Regions from separate parts of the Homo sapiens genome. Here region 1 is linked to region 2. The links are contacts of gene promoters, found by promoter capture Hi-C in human tissues and cell types (Jung and others, 2019). All regions are on one chromosome and are shown on one strand. Each heading gives the region's core, a stretch centred on a gene start or on the middle of the fragment in contact. The rest is flanking DNA. Distances are from core to core; before and after follow the strand shown. Region 1 overlaps TOPAZ1 (testis and ovary specific TOPAZ 1). Region 2 holds the start of SNRK (SNF related kinase).

Region 1 (7,145 bases), core at 2,116-4,615, 1.0 Mb before region 2:
CAGCTTCCTCCTTGCTTTTTCTTTCTTGGATCACTCATTCTGGGAGAAATTAGCTGTCAGTCATGTCATGAAGACACTTAACCAACCTATGGAGAGGCCCATGTGGTGAAATGAGGCTTCCACCCAACAGGTATTTGAGTGAGCCATCTAGCAAAAGGATCCTCTAGCTCCAGCAAGCTATCACGTAGGTGACTAAAGTTTCTGACAACATCTTGACTCCAACTATGTGGAAAAACTGAGTCACATGAAAATTCCCGAGCCAGGACCATCCAGCTAAACCTCTCTGAAATTTCTGACCCACAGATATTAAGATACTATTTTCTGTTTTAAGCCATTAGGTCCAGGGATAATTTATTCTATAGCAACAGATAACTAATGTAATATTCAACCAGAGGATCTGGTTTGTCACACCAGTAAACTGAAGCAAAATTCTTGTCAAGAAGCTCTAAAACAGGATTCCCAGGAGATCCTTATATTGCAAGTTTCCTGGATAAAGCTGACAAGAAATCGTATGGCATACCACGATTTAGGCACACCATCTACTGTATGCCTAAATTCTAGGATTCTAAACAAAATTACGTGAAAGGGTGTCACTCTGGTACAGTACCTACTTTATAATATTTATGCATATATAGCATTATAAAATATAGAAACTAGGCTGATGGCTTTATTTTCAATGGTATTCTTGGCTGATCACGTATTTCCCTTTTAGACCCTAGTCCTTTGATCTTTTGAGTTGACTAGAGATAAAGATTTTTATAGGTACTGATCTCTAAACACAAGAAAGGTTGGTACCTAAAGAGGATCCGTCTCTTTGAACATCTAACTATATCTCTGAAGTTGCTAAAGTGTTTACCGAATGCTACTAACTTGTTTGGTTTTAAGCCTCAAACAGGTCTAATCCTTTCTTAGTTTAAATGATATCAGAGTTTGCAATACACACACATAAAGTACATATATAAATATATACATAAATATATATGTATGTATAAAAACACATAAAACATTTACATCTTAGGGTGGGTGTGGGGAGTCATGATCTACATTCAGAATGCAGTTAAAGTTATGTCAACCAACCTTTTCAAAACTATCTGCAGTATCTGTGTAGAAGTTCCAGGACTCTGAATACTACTAGCATTAGATACCATGAAGATTTCAATAGCTAAGAGCATTTCAATCTCAGATAAATAAGATGGAATTAGAAGAAGTTTTCGGTATAAATTTCCTTCCAATGGTGGGTAGCAACCCAAGGAAAGAGCACCTGAAAAATCAAATAATAGGTCAAACTTTACTAAAACCCAATAGGTAAAAACCTAGATTTCTGAAATACCTACAGGCGATAATTACTTACACAGAATAAGTCTTCACATTAGAAGTAGATTAACAAATTACATGATAGCTTATCCTAGTATATTTGGCATTATTCTTTGTAAAGTGCTTTTGAAACATTAAATAAAAAGTGAGAAGGGCTGGGTGTGGTGACTCATGCCTGTAATCCCAGCACTTTGGGAGGCTGAGGCGGGTGGATCTCTTGAGGTCAGTAGTTTGAGACCAGCCTGGCCAACATGGTGAAACCCCATCCCTACTAAAATACAAAAATTAGTTGGGTGTGGTGGCGGGTGCCTGTCGTCCCAGCAACTCGGGAGGCTGAGTCAGGAGAATCACTTGAACCTGGGAGGCAGAGGCTGCAGTGAGCCGAGATTGTGCCACTGTACTCCAGCCTAGGCGACAGTGTGAGACTCCATCTCAACAAAAACAAAAACAAAAAAAGTGAGAAACATTAAAAAAAAAACACTCTGAAAAATGACTTTTGGGCCTTATCATGGCAAATGACATTTATTTCAAGCCACAGTAAACACAAGACAATTTCAGAATAACTATTTTTGAGCACAGTTATTTATAGTACCATTATAGTTTATGCAATATTTACTGTTGCTACTAAATGTCTGGCATTGTGCTAAGTACTAGGCATAAAATACATTTCCATCCTGTAGGTGATCTGTGTGTTGTAGCTACATTCACCAATTCATGTTTTTAAAACTTCACTTTTCAAGAGAAGAGATTTAACTTTTAAATTGTTTAGGTGCTTATTAGGAGAGATATATAGGGAAATACCTATAAAACTTCTAGAACATCCAAACTATATATAGGCAATTTTATATTATTATATTTTACTGAAACCAATTTAAATATGTATGTAAATTTTGCTTAGAATGTTTTGTTTTGTTAGGATGAGTTTCTTCAAGAAATCTTTCTAATATGGGTAATGGCTAATCTTTGAAGACCTGCTATGTGCCATGTACATGTGCTAACAAACACATGGGTTTTACCTCATTTTAACTTGACAAAATGCTACCTTTGAAATTAGGTACAATTACTTCCATGTTATAGACGAGGGGCTTTTGGTAAGCACTCAGGCTCTCTAAGCTTGCATGGGGTGCCCACTTTCTGGCTCCAGATTTTGGATTCCTAACCACTAGGTATTCCCACCTCCCTAGGTCACTGCCAGGAGCAACAAACTGTTAACTCATTAACTTTACTAGTTTTTGGTAGGTATAATTTACATGCATTCTTATTTAACTTTTCTTACCAGAATTAAAAAGCAGAAAATAAAAAATTAACTAGAAATCTACTAATACGATTTTTTTTTTCACTCAAAATGAAACGTGAGAAGAAAAATACTCACATTTGATTTTGGGGAGAAAGTAATGGAAAGATACACTAATAACATCTCTCTCTTGACTTCTCAGTTCTGAGAGAAAAGCAGTATTTTTAGGACAAAGGAGAACAAATCAGGAGCGTGAGAAAGGAAACTCTGCTGTCCCTGGACAACCTCCTCCTGATTAGTCTGGCATGAAAGCAAGGGAAAGCCATCAAGAAAGTAACAGAAAACTCACAGGATGGACAAAATATTTGTAATTCATATATCTGACAAGGGATTTGTATCCAGAGTGTATATAAATGCATATGTACATGTGTATGTATGTATGAATACTCTTACAACCAAAAAAACCCAATCAAAAAAAAAGGGCAAAAGATTTAATAGGCATTCTCAAAAGAAAATATACGAATGACCAATAACTGTATGAAAAGGTCCTCAACATCATTAGTTATTAGGGATATGAAAACCAAAACTGTAATGATACATTACTTAACACCCACTAGGAGGAAAGCTAAAATAAAAAACACAGTAACAAGTGTTGGTGAAGATATAAAGAAACAGGAAATCCCGTACACGGCTGGTGGGAATATAAATATAAAATGATGCAGCTTCTTCAGGAAACAGTTTGGCAGTTTGGCAAAAAGCTAAATATAGATTTACTGTATGAGTCAGCAATTCTCCCAAGAGAAATGAATGCATATATACACATAAAAACTTATGTGAATATTCAAAGTAGCACTATTCACAATAGCCAAAAAGTGAAAACAACTCAAATGTCCATCAACCAATGAATAAACAGATTCCATTTTATAGAATATTGTTTAGCAATAAAAAGGAACAAAGTATTGATACATGCTACAACACTGAAATTTGAAAACACTAGGCTAAGTATAAGAAGCCAGTCATGGCTGGGTGCAGTGGCTCACGCATGTAATCGCAGCATTTTGGGAGGCCGAGGTGGATGGATGACCTGAGGCTGGGAGTTCAAGACCAGCCTGGCTAACATGGTGAAACCCCATCTCTACTAAAAATACAAAATTAGCTGCGCATGGTGATATGTGCCTGTAATCCCAGCTACTCAGGAGGCTGAGGCAGGAGAATCACTTGAACCTGGGAGGTGGAGGTTGCAGTGAGCCGAGATTGCGCCACTGTACTCCAGCCTAGGTGACAGAGGGAGACTCCGTCTCCAAGAAAAAAAAAAAAAAGCCAGTCACTAAAACACATGTATTAAATGATTCCATTTATGTGATCTGTCTAGAATGGGCAAATTCATGGAGACAGAGAATAAATTAGTTGTTGCCTAGGACTAGGGTGGAAGAGGAGACAACCAGGGAATGGAGAATAAATGCTAATGTGTACAAGGTTTCTTTTTCTGGAGGTGTTGAAGATGTTCTAAACTTAAATGGTGGTGATGGCTGCATGACTCTGTGACTATACCAAAAATGAATGCATTATATACTTTAAGTGAACTAATTTCATGATATGTGAAATTATCTCAATAAAGCCATAAAAATATTAAAACAAAAAAAGTTTAAAAAAAGTCAAAACAAAGGCACTGGCACCAAGTCTTAACAGTGCCTTGAAGAAAGTCAGCGTTAAGTCCCAAATAAAGTACTACTAGACACGATTATATACCATTGAAAGGCTCTTCTTGCAAGGGTTAAGCTATGTCTGAAAATAAATCCAAAAGGAGTTCCAATATAATTTTAATGTCAATGTTGTTAGAAAATGAGATGTTTTGAAGACTGATCAGTGGCTATAAATTACTCACTTGGCTGTAAATTACTCATTTTTATTCATGGTTTTATAATTCAAGTACATTCCTTAAAAAACAAAAATACTCTTTATCCCGTAACCTCACTTGCATAAGTCTCAGAAGTTACACTGCATATGAAATAAGGAATATGTGATTAGATAAAAGGAAAAGTTCCAATAACAAAGGTACTGTATTGTACACAGGCATTAATTGCTTTAACACACTGCTAAAAAAATCTTTAAAAGTAATTCTTACTAGGGCTGAATTGATTTGGAGGAATGAGGAGTGACTGCTAATGCATATGAGGTTTCTTTCTGGTATGAATAAAATATTCTAAAGTTGATTATGGTGATGGTTACACAACTCTGTAGATATAGTAAAACCACTGACTTGTATACTTTAAATGGGTGACTTGTATGGCATTTGAATTATACTTCTATAAAGTTGTTAAAAATTTTTAAAGTAAATGATTAAGTCTAGATGCTTTAATATAAAATTTTATTTCCAACTAAAAAATAGAAATATTTATAAAAATCTCATTTAAATGTCTGAGCTTATATTTGTTCCTGTGGCATATAAACACCTTTTGATGGCATCTCCCCCCAGTTGCACAGTTATATGAAATTATTCCCATTAACTTCAATTCTAGAAACTAAAATCACACACACACATATATGTGTGTGTGTATGGTTTCTAGAAGTCTGAAGGTAAATAGTATAAAGAGTTGAAACATAACCACACAATTGAAATTAGGTGTTATGAACAAACAATTCTATCTTTCCTCTAAATTTCTGATCACCCTTTTTAAGAAAACTCAGCTTTCAAAACTTCTTTTGATTATAACCTACAAGAAACACATTTTGCATAATGACCCAGTATACATACGTGCATATATGCAACTGAAATGAAAATTTTATCAAATAATTAAACTTACTACCTGTAATGTACCCTAGTATTTTCTTTCCCATTTTGTTGGGGAAAAAAAGTTACCACCTGCTGCATTGATCACAGCTGGCCACCTGAAAAACACTTCCAGCTCAGGTAGTAGTGGCTAGGATATTTGACACATTTGGTACGGGGTGACACAGAGTAGGCACTCAAATATTTGTTATATACATGATAGTGGTAGAAATGGTAGCTGAAGACAAATTACTGCATGAAGGCAGAAAAAACAATGCTTTTCTAGATCTAGAACGTACATGGAATTACTTTCTAATTAAAATACCTGCGAGGTGGCTTGGACTAGAGAAAGCACTAGTTTTCCAGGCTTATTTGTTAGAGAACAACAGCTGTAAGTAGATTAACAAAGTTCTATTACTAAAAGCCATGTGAAAAACATATACTATGTTGCATTGTTATGACAGCCTTTATGCTTCTGATGTGACCTGCTATTGAATATTTTTAGTTATAACAATTAGGGATATAGCAGAGATAAATAAAAACAGATCTTCTTTAAACTTCATTCTACCCACTTGTTTTATGCTTGCATTATTTATAAGATATGCCAAACTGGTTCTATCCTGTCATTTGTTCCCTTTGCTCGCCCTCTAGCGGACAGGCTACTGTGCAAGAAATAAAGATTGGAAATTGCAAACATTGGAAATAAGGAAAGCAACTGGAAACAGAAGAGAAACAATAGGTTTCAAAAGAGAGCACAGATCTGTTGAGACCACTACATTTGAATATGTATTACTGCTCTTTTAATACATATAAATATCTAATCTTATATATTATAAATTCTGGGTTAGAGAATACAATTATAAACCAATATATTAAAACATTTTAAATGTAACTTACTTTTGTAGTGGGCTCTGGCTTTGAGCCATAAACGACTCCTTCCTAAAGAAGTAATTAATCTTCTGAGAAAGGAAAAATCAATAGGGATGCTCTTTGAAATCATGAATTCTGCCACAGAGGATGACATACCAAGACTACTGCTTTCTATACAGGAACCTAGAAGCTTATTAAAAAGAAGGCTATATTGTGAGACTTCCACAGTTTCTGGAATAAAAAAAATGATATAATAAAATTCATTTATATTAAAGTGTCTCAAACCTCCATCTCATACTCCTTTTTCTTTCTCCTCCCCTTCACCCTTTCTTACCCATTATAGGACTCACAGTCACTAAAATGCAATCATTTTATATATTCTCTTTATTTTTCTTCTCCTTTTTTGAGACAGGGTCTCACTCTGTCAGCCAGGCTGGAGTGCAGTGGCATGATCTTGGCTCACTGCAACCTTCACCTCCTGGGCTCAAGTCATCCTCTCGCCTCAGCCTCCTAAGTAGCTTGGACTACAGGTCCACCAGGCCTGGCTAATTTTTATGTTTTTTTGCAGAGGCAGGGTTTCACCATGTTGCCCAGACTAGTTTCGAATTCCTGGGCTCATCTATGGCCATACCACCCTGAACACGCCCATATCGTCTGATCTCAAATTCCTGGGCTCAAGTGAACTGCCTGCCTCAGCCTCCCAAAGTGCTGGGATTACAGGCATGAGCCACCGCGCCCAACCTATCTTACATATTCTCTAAGTCAGAAACGAAAAAGCATTTGACAAAAGAAAAACCATTAACTTCCTTTGCAATAGAGAAGATAAAAAGAAGCTTGACAAAAATTTCAGAGGATGCATTAAGACCTCTGTATTTGATTCCCACATGTAACTGTGTATCTGTAGTGTCTTGAATAATTTCTCAATTCTGTTTGTATTATATCTACAGTTCAGACCTT
Region 2 (7,048 bases), core at 3,831-6,330:
AGTTATTGTGAAAGTTAAATGGGATAATATATATTAGCAGGGTGTGAGTAGAATACAAATCACCTAAGGATTTTATCCCCCTAACTTTAGAACTGGCCTCCCTCCCATGAGATTACAGTATTTGAAAGGGGTTGTATATATAGTTCTCCATCTCATTTTCTTATCAGTAACCTCATCCTCTATTGGCCCAACAAACTGGCCCCTAAACACCTGTACTGGATACTAGGAAGGTCTCTGTCTCAACTTATTCACAGTCTCTTACGGGAACAGATACGCAAAAAGAGGTGTTCTTTTCTCCTAAATCTGCCTTGGAGAATGCCACAGACAGCATTCTGGAGAAATAAATTTTGTGTGTTTGAGCTAAGAACTGAAACTGGCAACGGTAAGGAAGAGGCTTTTCAGGAAAGAGGCCCAAGGAAGTTTAGTATGACTCAGACAACAATATATGCAGAGCGCAGGGGACAAGGTCAGGCATGTATTCCATATAATTCATCAATTTCTACTTCTTAGGTCTAGGCTAGCCCTTACCCATGCTCTAGGGCCCAGCTTAAAGGACGACTTCCTGACCATCCCCTTGCCCTCCCCAACTCCATGCACATACAGCTCCCTATACTCACTCACAGCACTGTGTCCTTTGCCATTATGACCCTTATCACAAATGTGAGGTCATATAATTATTTGTGTGACTGTGTGGTTAATAATCTGTGTCCCCCACTAAACTAAATGACAGGCTCAGTTCACATAAGGATCATGTTCATTTTATTTAGTTCTTTATCCCAGGGTCTGCCAAGTATAGCATCTACTCAAAATATACAGATATATTTTATTAAATGAACAAATGAAGGCTAGCATAAAGAGCCAAAAACAAGAGCTCAAGAAAAATCCTGAGCAGGAGAATGGCAATCAGAGATGATGGTTTAACAAATTACTCTGGCAGCAAAGTGAAGATCAGACTGAAAGGGCGAGAATAGAGCTAGAAGACAGGTAAGCAGACAACTGAAAATGTCTCCAGGTAAATTACTTAAAGACTTAAAAATGAGGGCAGCTGGTATATGGGCAGTGATGATAAGGATGTTGTGGAGGAGACACATTTTGGAAGTAGAATCCAAGAACTCAATGCACAGGAGGCTAAGCAAAGGGAGAAATCCAGAATGACTCTAGCGGAGAGTGGTAGCTGGTGATGCCATTCTCTCAGACTGGACTTTCAGGACAGGAACATCTACAACATGCTAGCAGAAAGTAGAGGATTTGCTTCTAGTTCTAAAATTGTATGATTGAAAAACAATTCAAATCCAACCCAGCTTTATTAGAAAGGGTGTGGTTTCCATAACAAGCTGATAAAATCAACAAATTAAAGATTAGATTTTTTTACCTTCTTCACCAAGACACTTCTTGGTACAGACTATGTACCCGGCATTACTTGGGTCTGATAATGTACAGATCAAAGAAGTAGTCTCTGCCTTCAAAGAGCTGACAGTATTATGGGTTTAAGAGAGATAACTGCAGGTCAACAATTAAGAAATTGAGGCCCAGTGAGGCTGCGATTTGACCACCGTTATGTTGTGTAATCCAGGTTCCTGGAGCATTTTTGTCATAACCTACATTAAACGGTCCAGGCAAATATTAGTCAAGAGGGTATGTGTTTAGATGTGCAGATAGACCTAATCTTGCTTTGGGCCTGAAGATACTCCAAAACTTAAAACATGTTAGATGAACAACTAATGATCTCTGAGTCTGAAGTAACTTTTGAGTAGCCACATGGCAGCAGACTAGGGGGCATAATAGCAAAAGGAAAGGGAAAGAGGCCTGATTTGCCATGGAACAGCCTACCTGAGCAGAGGCCAAATGCTGGGGATGCCAAAGCAGACTCTCAGGAGGCTCTGGAAGTGACAGCAGAGAAATAAATGTTCAGGGAGGGCAAAGCAGGAATCCTCTTTAGACAGGTTCCTTCCCTACCACCAGCAAGAAATGGTTTCCCATGAGACACAGAGCCACAACCCAAAGCAGATGTGCAGAAAAGCAGATGAGGATCAATGACGTAGCTCTGGATTATCCAGAGCAGACAACACAGTTCCAGTGCTCACTCGTGAGGCCATTAAATCTGAGGAATTTTATACCAGCTCTTCCCAAAGTTAAAACAAAACAAAACAAACACCTCACCAAAATCCTTCTCCTCCATCCCCCAAAGCAACTGCCCCATTTCCCTCCTTCCTTTTCAAATGCTTTAAGGAAAGAACAGTTGCATTGTCTCAGCCTTCTCAACTCCCTTTCACCCACTTGGATCTATGTTCTTCTCCCACCCACCACTTGACCTTGTCTTCTCACCCTCCCTGAACCCCCTGAGCCTTTTCCCTTTTTCTCTGCCTGGGAATTCTTCCTATTCTTCAAGACCAGTTTAACCATCACCTCCTCTGTGAAGCATTTCCATGTCAGGTTGTTCACTGCCGCCATCCTTGTGCTTCTGCAGGTTTTTCCCTATGCCTCACCACAGTTCATCTGTTCGTACTGTTACTGTTTACCTTGGTGTTCCCCAGTAGCTTCTAAGAACCTACAGTCAGGAACTGGTTTTTATTCACTTTTCTACTGCTGCCCTCCCTCTACCCTAGGGCCACCAAAAGAGACACACAAACATTCCATGAATAAATGATCAAAGGTTAAGTTTATCTTCAGAACTGCTAGGATCCACTCAATTTTTCCACCTAAGTTGTTCTAAGTTTACCTGCACATAGATACACACTGGGAAATACCTAAATTCTGAATAACAGTTTTCTTACTAAAGCATCTTAGTTATAAACACTCTATCTTTAAGCAAACAGCTGGGATGCAGTTACATTAAGTCTAGAGTTTCTCATCTACGGTTTTTAATTCCTAAGATTCTGGCCTATGGAAAGTTCATTTGTACCCTTTTCTTCTTGGGCAGTGTAAAGAGCTCTTAGGATTAGACAAGCTGCTACAGGGAAGAAATCATGTCTTATTTATACCAGTACTTAGAACCATGGCTGCTCAGTATCTCCAGAAATAAATATTTTTCTATTTGGTTTCACTTTCTGTATGAGGGAAGTACTCACAGTGAAGTTCAGATGAACAGTATTTCCTGTGACCAGTAAAAATATCACGAAAGCCCTTCAATTTTAATAAGGACATTTAAAAGCCTTTCTTTTAGGATTATGTGATTAAATCTAAACCATAAAGACCCAACCTATACTTCTGGTCTAGAAAAATAAAATTAGTACAACTTCTGAGTTCTAGCATGTTTTAGACTAATGGATCTTACTGCAGTAAAACAGAAAAAAATACTCAGAATTATTAAAAAATACGGTGAGAGTAATTTTTGTGCACAAAATGAACAATTAAAAACTGATTATACAAATTTAAAAAAAAATTGAAAGGTGGCACTGAAAGTTTCCTGCCTGAAAAGCCTTCAGGATGAGAGTATTATAAAAAGTTAGCACTGTGCACCTGACTTTCTACACTGCTTCAATATGTGACCTTGGAAATGTCATGTAATTTCTCTCATTTCTAGTTCTGTAAAATGGGAATGTCCACCTGTTCTCCTCTCAAGGACAATTACACAGATAATCAGATTAAAAATTTGGTATTTGGTGTTCTTTAAAAAAAGAAACTTGTCTAATTAGTATGCTTTAATCATCACTTGTACAGTACATTCCTCTTCAAGAATCCAATTCCAAGAGAAATATTTAAGCAGACGTTGAGGACAGATTTCCTTAAGGGAATTATTTTATAAATCTGGAAAGCAATGTAACGAGATTATAAATTAACAAACTGATTACATAAGCCTTGACAACCCGGGCTTTAAAGTACACTGCTGTATATATTCTGATAAGTTAAAGACTGGTTTGGGACATAGTGCTCCAATCCCATACAAGGAGCCCAAACTCAGGCATTTCATGTTTGATAGGAACTTGGTGGAGATTCAACAGGATGTCCAACACTTGCAAGCCATGCTTCACCTTAAAACCTGACAAAATGTTTAAGGCATTAAGTCAACTTTACCACGGTTCCTAAGACTTTAAGAATGCACATAATTAAAGGGAAGGGGGGTGGAAAGTAACATGACAGTTTGAAAGGTCCCATATCCTCAGACCTCTATAGATTTAGGAACTCCACTGCTAAATTCTCCCCAAAGCCTGAAACTCCCTATGAAACTACTGGACTGTATGCGATCCAACAGTTACAAATAGCACAGCTCCAAGAACCCCGAAGATAAAAGGCTGCCACTTTCCTGCAACCCAAGTCCAAGTAAAAGGCAGGAAGGTCCCTGTAAAATGGACCAGAAAGAAATCAACAGGCGATGACTATGGAAAAGAACGTAGATTTCCCAGTCTCCCAGTCTGCAAAAATTCTAGCTCTCCCTCGGGAATGGCACTGCTCCTCTTTCCTTACCCCTTTGCCCTTTCTCTACAGACAACATCCCCACTCTATTGTAAAGCAGTTTGACCACGGAACCCTTTTGCTGAGGCCGGATTTCTACAGTCTTCTGAAAGGGGAAAACGCATTCAAAGAACACACACCCTACCAAGCGCCCAGGGCGCGGGGCCCCGCGGGCGCCGCACTCGGCCCGCTCCGGGGCGGGGCGCGGGGATGCGGGCGCCTTCCGAGGTGCCGCAATCCCGCCGCGGCCGCAAGGGCAGGGCCTCCAGGCGACCGCGGCCGCCGCCGCAGTGACGGCTCCCGCCGGGCCCCGCCGCCGCCCCGCCGCCAGGCCGCGCCGCGGGGTCCGGGCCACCGCAGCCCGGGCCCCGCGTCCTCCCGGGCCGCGCGCTGCGGCCGGCGCCGAGAGCGCAACTTACTTTCCGCCTGCGGCGAGCGCCCCGGCCCGGGCGCCCAGCCCGGCAACAGCGGAGGCTACTGAGGCGGCGGAGGCCGGCCCCGCACCCCTGCCTACGGCCGCCGCGCCCCGCCGCGCTCCGCGCTCGCCCCTACCTCAGCCGGCAGGCGAGCGTCCGTCCGCAGCGGCCGCGGCGCCGACAACTCCCTCCCGGCCGCCGAAACCCCGCACCCAGCGCTAATCATAATACCGAGCGGGCTGCCGGCCGCGGGGAGGGGGTGCCGGGTAGCTGCGCCTGCGCGGGCTGCGCGTCACTGTGACGTCAGCGCTGGGGCGGGGCCGCGGGAAGGGCAGGGCGGGGCGGCGCGCACCTGCGGCCGGCGCGCGGGCTGCTGGAGGGCATCCTGGCGGCTTTCTGACCCCGGCGAGTCGGGGCTGAGGCGGCTGGCGGGACAAAGCGGGCAAGGCGCCCAAGGAGGATGGAGGACGGGGGAGGAGGAAGCACCAGGGACACGGAACAATGGCCGGGAAAAAGTAGCGCGAGCTGTCAGGGGAAATCGGAGGGAAGGGACCGCGTCTGTACAGGACTGCGTCTTGGCGGCAGGGGGCAGGGAGCCGCACGCGCTTTACTCTTTGGTTCCCGCCCAGGTTTAAACAAGGATAAAAAAATTGTAAAAATACATATACATACACACATGCACATATGTATATACATATATATACATAATATGATTTTTTTCTCTGTAGTTTCTTCTCCCTGGGACTCTAATTTGAAAAAATTCGGTTGATTTTGTTGTTATTTAAGCAAAATTGGAAAAGCCCAACATCTGAATGCAGTGCTGGCCTTAAAGGTCAGCGGGAGACACAGGCCCTGCTAGGCAGCCTCTGGCAACAGCATAGAAAAGTAAACGGTCGTGGGGACACATCAAAGCACGTGAAGTCAGAGATTCAAAACACGCCGGGCATTAACCATAGCCCTTGATGGTTCAGTGGTATGGTCGCCAGGCCAGGTTGCTCTGGAAGGGAGCTTAGGGATGGCCGCAGAGGGTGGGAGGGGACTCCCGACTCCCACCCCTGGAAGCATGGCATGCAATAGAGACCAGCTCTTCAGGGTTCCTGGAAGGGAACACCAACAAACCAGACGCCAGATTTCTTCAACCTGCTTTTCCCCTTCTGTTCCCACGTTGTGTCCACCCTTCCCCAAGAAAGGACCCCTAGCAAGGAAGGACACAAGCCAGAAGAGCTGCGGAGATGCTGCAGGCTTGGTTGAATTGACTGGACTGCGAAGAGAAATCTAGATGGTTTTAGCAAATCTCTGTTGACCTGCAAATGTCAAAAGCCTTTTAGCTTCTATGCATCAACTTTGCATGTCTGAAGATGATTGGGAAGCAGGAGTGGATTGTTGGGAGGTGCAAACAGTTTGATTCTTAGGGTAATAACATAGGGTTTTCTGATCAAGGGGACTCCCAGTTACCCTAATACCCTTGCATCAGGTGGTGGGAGAGCACCAGGGAAAGCCTCAGATTAGGCCTCTGCGCCTTAGGGTCCCACCTGGGATCACTCTGACCTGAAAAGACCATAAAAGAGTCATCTCATTTTGACATGGAAATCGTAACTGTAGCAGCATATTAAGCAAGAGCTCCTAACTTGGATTTGTAGAATTTGTCCTTTTGTTGCTAGAAATCAGGAAGACCATGCACTTTTCTCCTCAGGGAGATATCACTATTCAGGGAACTCTGTAGCCAACTAAAGGGAGAAAATACCACTGTAATGGTCTCCCAAGGGATTTCCAGTGGTCGAAGGCCTCCACCCCTGGGTCTGTAGTCCCTGAGTTATATCAGTAACTACAGAACAATGACGATAATATATAAGCTCTTGAAAAATAAAGTATTTATATTGCTGCTGTTTAACTAGGTTTTGAATAAATTTTCTAAGGAAAACAAGGCATAAAAGAGCAAAACAAATGAAAAAGGGCAAAATAATAAATTGATTTAAATGAAGTTGGCTGCAATACTCTTCTAGAGAAGGACGCAGTACTGGCCACATGGTAAATCATTTATTCATCCCCAGTATTTCTTGGGTAGCTGAAGTGCTGCTGGCAAGAATATGACCCAGTTTTGGTTCCACACCATAAATGTGGTGACATGATTTGATTATGCTTCGGCAATATTTTAAGATATTCAAGTACAAATTAATAGTATTACTTAAGTTGGAATTTAAGCAAATGTGCTTATAGTTAATGAAGAAACTCCTTTTCCA

What was found. Contacts are between HindIII fragments. The study calls those that stand out against the background at their distance.
Region 1: a contact is called between a fragment that was not itself captured here and the fragment with the promoter of SNRK in region 2, in 1 of the 25 tissues and cell types used here (hippocampus).

What each region holds. Positions count from the first base shown.
Region 1 is chr3:44,322,366-44,329,510 of GRCh38, reverse strand. It overlaps TOPAZ1 (testis and ovary specific TOPAZ 1), which reads right to left. Exons shown (of 20, transcript NM_001145030.2): 18 at 6,216-6,419; 19 at 1,078-1,261. LOC105377055 (a long non-coding RNA gene) reads left to right here. Exons shown (of 4, transcript XR_940782.4): 4 at 2,751-4,820. Among named protein-coding and RNA genes, the nearest start is that of TCAIM, 13 kb to the left of the region's middle. The HindIII fragment of the contact is 6,671 bases long and covers 30-6,700 here.
Region 2 is chr3:43,284,572-43,291,619 of GRCh38, reverse strand. SNRK (SNF related kinase) reads right to left here and starts at 5,080. Exons shown (of 7, transcript NM_017719.5): 1 at 4,945-5,080. RefSeq lists silencers at 1,907-2,134, 4,546-4,595, 4,836-5,235 and an enhancer at 4,840-5,340. The HindIII fragment of the contact is 11,190 bases long and covers 1-7,048 here.